Linked DNA regions of Homo sapiens: region 2 is linked to region 1. Evidence: promoter capture Hi-C in 16 types of primary human blood cells and fetal thymus (Javierre and others, 2016). All regions are on one chromosome and are shown on one strand. The core of a region is centred on a gene start or on the middle of the fragment in contact, and the rest is flanking DNA. Distances in the headings are between cores, read along the strand shown. Region 1 holds the start of HMGCS1 (3-hydroxy-3-methylglutaryl-CoA synthase 1). Region 2 overlaps RICTOR (RPTOR independent companion of MTOR complex 2).

What was found. The method cuts DNA at HindIII sites, captures the fragments that hold promoters and counts their contacts. A CHiCAGO score of 5 or more calls a contact.
Region 2: a fragment that was not itself captured here is called in contact with the fragment with the promoter of HMGCS1 in region 1 in 1 of 17 cell types (monocytes); the score reaches 5.1 in monocytes.

Annotation. Positions count from the first base shown.
Region 1 is chr5:43,311,979-43,315,024 of GRCh38, forward strand. HMGCS1 (3-hydroxy-3-methylglutaryl-CoA synthase 1) reads right to left here and starts at 1,434. Exons shown (of 11, transcript NM_001098272.3): 1 at 1,378-1,434. RefSeq lists enhancers at 1,204-1,343, 1,594-1,823, 1,830-2,346, 2,347-2,861, 2,956-3,046. The HindIII fragment of the contact is 3,835 bases long and covers 1-2,150 here.
Region 2 is chr5:39,070,340-39,073,385 of GRCh38, forward strand. All of the region lies in intron 2 of RICTOR (RPTOR independent companion of MTOR complex 2), which reads right to left. Among named protein-coding and RNA genes, the nearest start is that of RICTOR, 2.5 kb to the right of the region's middle. RefSeq lists an enhancer at 2,893-3,046. The HindIII fragment of the contact is 1,588 bases long and covers 776-2,363 here.

The sequences.
Region 1 (3,046 bases), core at 184-2,683:
CTCTTCCCATAAGGTATGCTATCCCTGCCCCCTTCTTCACACAAAAATAACTGCAATTTTAAAATAAAGTTTAAAGAACACAAGCTGCTTAGGTGTCTCAAGTGCAAAGAACTACTGACACGGATAATGTTAACGACTTTCAACTGCCTCTCATCTAATAGTATCTGTGCAATAAAGTCCAAAACACATCTCAGAAGGAAAAATCTGTTAACTCTAGGAGCACTTCCATTTGTCTTAATTTTGTTGTTTATCTTGTCATTGTTTTTCATATTCATGCCTAAAACAGAGCAAATGTTAGTTAGCAGCAACCAGAACACATCATCCTACTGCAGCAGGTGGCAAGAGCATCCTCGGGAAGGTGGGGAGCTGCAGCAGAGGTGAGCAGTGAAAGCAGCTACTGATGCCTTAAGGCTAAGGCCATAGGGACAAGCATGACAAACAGGCACAACCTCACATTATTTGTTCCCCAAATCCCTCCTCCAGAGTGGATCAGAATAATCGTTTCTCTACCACTGGTCAAGGCCAGACGTGGGTTTTCAAAGACTCCATATACTTGCTTTGAAATATCCTTAGCTTAATCCAAAACCTATTTGTGGGAGGACTCTGTGAGTGCCTGCCCATTACACTGTATCACCTAAAGCTGGTCCCGAAGGTATTAGTAGGAGAGAGATGTGGGATTTCAGAACACCAAGGAAGCCTATTTTTTAAAACGTAGACAAAAAAAAATATGGAGGCAGGAAGGCGGGAGGCAGTGATCTATGAGATTTGAAGCAAGTACAGACTGAGCCCCAGTACTTAGCCAGGTCTAAATCACGGTTGTGAACGCTTTCTTGCACCTGAGCTGAGGAAGAAAAGTAATGCTACCCACTTCCCTTCTTTCCATCAACTCTATATGTGGCAGCAGGACACACCCCCTGCGAACCTACCAGCCTCCGTCTAAAGAGGATCTTGCCCATCCTTTGGCGTCCACCCTTAACCAACGCTCTGGAAACGCCTTGGTAGCCCAACTGTCTTCTCTCCCCCTCCTGACACCCCCCACTCACCTCTAGGCGGTCACAGCTGCCTCTCTGGCACCTCCAACTCCTCTGTCGTTAGAATACCTAGACCTCAACGCCCTCTCGCGTTCTCCCCTCCGCGACTCGCCTGTGTTCTCGGATCTTCTCAGATCCGCTACGGTCGGCCTCAGGTCCCTCACGAGGGAACCCCCGCCCGGCCCCGCTCACGGTGCCCCATCCTCCCGGGCAAAGTCCACGCCTACGTCCTGACCCAGAGCCCCAGCTCCTTCGGGCCTAGTCAAGGACACCGCCTCTGTCTGGCCCACACCCCGCCCGCGGCACCTCCGCAGCCCAGTTCTACTCCCCAGCGCGGGACACTCACCAAGCGTGACCGAGCGGCAGCAGAGGAAAGGGAGTGAGCCACGAAAGGACAGTCCGCGGCGCCTCCCCTTCGCCACCAGCTTTATAGCCGCCAACCCACCCGACTCCGGCACCGCCGAGAGTCGCTGGGAGGCGGGACGGTGGCTCCCACAGCCAATCGCGGCCGGTAGAGTTGCCCGGCAGCGCCCGCCCCCCAGTCCGGCTTCTACCAATCAAAAGGAAACTAGAGGCGATGACTCGCTAGGATTTTCCCTCGTGGCTGGAAGGGCGGGGAGAAGAGGCGGGGACAAAGTCTCAGGGCCGAGGAAGTGGTGTGAGAGACTGACGTGAGGTGGCACGAGAGCCCAGTTGCCAATGACGGAGCTGCGAGATACGGCGAGAGCCAACGGGAGCGGAGTGAGAGGTTCTCCGACCAATTGGGACTAAGTGAGAGGAGATGCGGGCCAATGGGTACTCCGCGTCCCACCGCTGGAGAGATGGTCAAATGTGGGAGGCGAGGTGGTCCCAGCTTGGGAGTCTGTCAGGTTGCCTAGCAACCAGAACTAGGCTTCACCTGAAAGATTTCTGAAATACTGTACTTGATTTGAATTCAGTCTTAACGTTTTCTAGCAAAGTGTGCGTAGATTGCAAATTGGAGCAGAATACTTCACCCAGAACTTGTATATGTGTAAATAGTCTAAATACCCGATTTGTAAATACTCAAATATTGTCTCCTTTATTCAAAACTACCTTGACTTAAAGAAAACAGAACAAACAAAAGTGCTCTTGAGACAAAGCTTTCTAACTAAACCTAAAACAAAATGGTTTCAGGATTAGGCATCCGTGGGGAGGGTGCAGAGCCTTGCCTGTGAAGGGAAGTTGATACTGAATTCAAGGATTTTTGCCAGGCCATGCACTCTGAGGAAAGGGACTCCATTTGGCCTGTTGCCCACTGTATCTTCTAAGCTTCATATGTGGTACCTGCCAAGTAAAAGGCTGTGGAAAGGCCACGTAATTGTCGGCATAGTAAATCCATCGGATACGGACTGCCTAACTCCCCCAGCAAATAGAGAGGAGCAATTCAAGCTAGAGGAATTCACTGAAACACTATTTGGGGGAATCCAAAGGAGGACACTTGTGGCTTTGCAATAAACTCTGCCTCTATCTGGTCAGAGAGAGAAGCCATAATACTTAGCTTTGGTGGGGGACCATGAGTGAGGTTCGGAGTTGTTTGTATCTCTCCCCATCTCAATTTAATTAACAGGAATGCTATTGATAAGGGGTCATTGGTAATTCTGTGATTCACACAATTATTGTTATGGGAGATTCTTTTAACCACTATAGATGCTAACCTAGTAAGACACATTCTCAGCAGCAAAGTGGCAAAATATATTGGAAATGGAACCACTGTGAAGTGGTGGCATAAATGACTTGGGGGAAGAGGACCACTCAGTAATGATTTCCATTCCACAGTATTGCCCATGACTCACTTCATATGTATGTAAAGTAACTAGATAGTAAACAGAGAGAGAGACATTGCCTGATTATGATCAACAGCAATTTGGGGTGGGGTAGGAGATTAAAATTCTTGGCATATTGGAATATGCTGAAAGGCAGTAAGGACAAACACAAGAAAGAAGATACAGTTTTGTCGTTAGGAATCGCAAATAATTCCAACTCCAGGAGTACAT
Region 2 (3,046 bases), core at 320-2,819, 4.2 Mb before region 1:
GCGCCTGTAGTCCCAGCTACTCGGGAGGCTGAGGCAGGAGAATGGCGTGAACCCGGGAAGCGGAGCTTGCAGTGAGCCGAGATTGCGCCACTGCAGTCCGCAGTCCGGCCTGGGCGACAGAGCGAGACTCCGTCTCAAATAAAAAAAAAAAAAGTTAGAGTTCAAATCTACATCATTTTGGAACCTTTCTGCTTTTCTAGGTATTAGACAGCAACCAAGAGAGTCAGTTTTTTAGTTCTTAGTGGAAACGTAAAGGAGTTAATCAAAAATTATAAAATTCAACTATACTTTTAAATAAATTATATTCTAATAATTATATTTGAACTAGTGTGTCCATATTCTGGGAATTCACTTTGAACACAATAATTAAAGTATACCAGGAGGGGTTTACCCAGGAAGAACACTGTATCTTTTCAAGTGATTCAGTACCAGTAAAGAGATGCACTACTGGACTGATAAGACAGTCTATCCTTGCAGTACAAATGGCGAGAGGAAGCATTTGGGCTTCAAAATACATTTTGGCATGCATTACAGACAGTATTTAATAATATCATTAGCAAATATTGGGGACTTTCACAAATTAAGTAGTTGTCTGAACAAAACTCAGAGCAACCATTACCAATACGCTGACTGTAAAGTCTACTATAATGAAGTTCCTAAACTAGATAAAAATTAATCCATCAACAATTTTTAACTGAGGCACTCTATGTATGAACCACAGCACTAACACAAGTACCAAAACCAACGAAACTTAGAATTCTTCTGAGCCTCAAGAAGCTTGCAAGGCTAGCCAAGTCATTATTAAATAGTATGAAATGTCCTGGTGTCAGAGACAAAAATTCTAAGGTTCTATGAAATACAGTATCACATTTTATCCTAAGTGAATATAACATACTGCACTTCGCTTAGACTTAATTTATTGGTAATGTCACAGATTGCTTTACAATTGTTATATTCAAGAACTCTAACTCAGATAGACTATACCCAATTAGTATAACAGTATGTTTCAAAAAAAAAAGAAGCTCGAATACCATAATTCCTTATTAACAAGTTTATAATATTCAAAACAACCGTTTAAAGTATTTTTAATGTGAGTTTTAAAACTGTGATTTCACAATGTAGGAAGGCAACTAATGTTAAATATCACTTACAAAGTATCCGGTCTTATGCCAAGTACTTTAATTAAGAACTAGCTCATTTACTTTTCACATTCTTAACCCTTTGAAGTTATCTCTTATTTTAGAAATGAAGAAATCAGGGGTAAAGCAAGGTCAAATAACTTGCCCCAAATCACCCAACTATTAAATCTCACAGCTGAGGTTACAATCCAGAATGATTTGACTTTATAGTCAACTCTCTTTTCACTACACATTGATGGATCCTTTAGGGATTACAATGACCATGTCCTCTATTTTATAATGAGCTTTATTAGGTAACTACACAATGAATCTCTCAAAGATTAAATTTAAAAAATAAGAATAAAAGCAAACACTGCCTTGGCATTAAACAAAAAAATTTTTGGTTGCCCAAACTTTATCTTTTTACATACTGTAATCTAATCCACAAACAGCTGCCCTTCAGCTGCAACCCAAACTGCCTCACAGTTCTCAAATTATTACTAAACTTTAATTCCTCATGAATTTTCTTCAAGCCTTCTTTGAACAATGAAATGTCTGTCACAACAGCAACTTTTTAAAACAATAGTATCACTATAAAATGACTGATTCAGATTAATTCCAAACTTCCTTATGATTTAGAAATACAGATCTCAAACAATCCCTCACTCTTTATTTTTGCAATCAGTTTTAAATGGCTGTGTATACTTTATTCCAAACTGAAGTACATTTTGTCAGGGCAAGCCGAAAACAGCATTTTCTGCACTATCTATATTAACCTGGAAATACCTATGGACATAGGTGCTTACTAAATTCTCAGTTAATATGGCATTTTAAATAGTAAACAGTTACCTGTGTGCCTCAGTAAAACTGGAGTAAGCCAAAATTATCAAATCAGATGTGTACCTAAGCTCTTCCACAACTCAACATTTTTGACACCAAGCAGAGAAACCACTATATATAGGAGCTCGACGAACTCAATTTAAAATACAACTATATATTTCCAGCACCACATCTGAGCAGGTTTTTAATGCACAAGTTAAACTCAAGTTTATTAAGGGCTCCCTTCACCTTCATCTAAAACACATATGCCTGTATATAAATTAAATCACTCACTAATTACATCTTTTACAGACCTGAAATTGTAGAAGTTATCCTTGTTAGGAAGTTTTCTAGTGAATCTATTTTATATAGATTTTTCACATGTGTGTTATAGTCAAGTTTCCAAACAGTTGCACAGAAGTCAAAAGCTTTACATCTTTCTATACTAATTCTCAAAACCGATCTGCTGAAAAAAATGGTGGAAATTAGTGCATTGATAATCTAATTAGTAGCCATTTTCAGGATTTAAGCTCTACTATATTGTATTATATTTTAGAAACTGTCTTGTAAAAGGACCTAGTTCACCCAAAACTAAGTCCCTGAACTTTCAGAATAAAATATTAAGTTATAAAAATGTACTCTTGTAGCTAAGTGAAAGCTGACCATTCAGTTTATAAAACAGTAATCTTACATCGTGATAAGCAAAATAAAACAAATTAGAAAATGCACTATGCTTTCACTCTAGCCGTTGTCAACAAGGAGCCCAGCTTTAACAAATTACTGTAGATAACAGTCATTACGTCAGGTACGACATAGGGTAAAAAACTGATCTCATACAGAATGTCTACAACAAGTTTTTTTGTTTACTTCCTAAGGTGTTTTATAGACCTCAGAAACTGATTCTGTACAGCTGAACCGGGTTACACTCCAAGCTACAGCCCGTGTGAAATATGACTTCGTCGGAATCAGTAGGCTCAATCCTGTTTACCGTGGAAGAGAAAAGAATCTTGTACGTAACTACTAAATCTTCAACGAGATAATGTCGAATAAACTCTAGTACTGTAAGTGATAGAGGAAACACTGGCTAGTAACGGGATTAGGTCATTAAA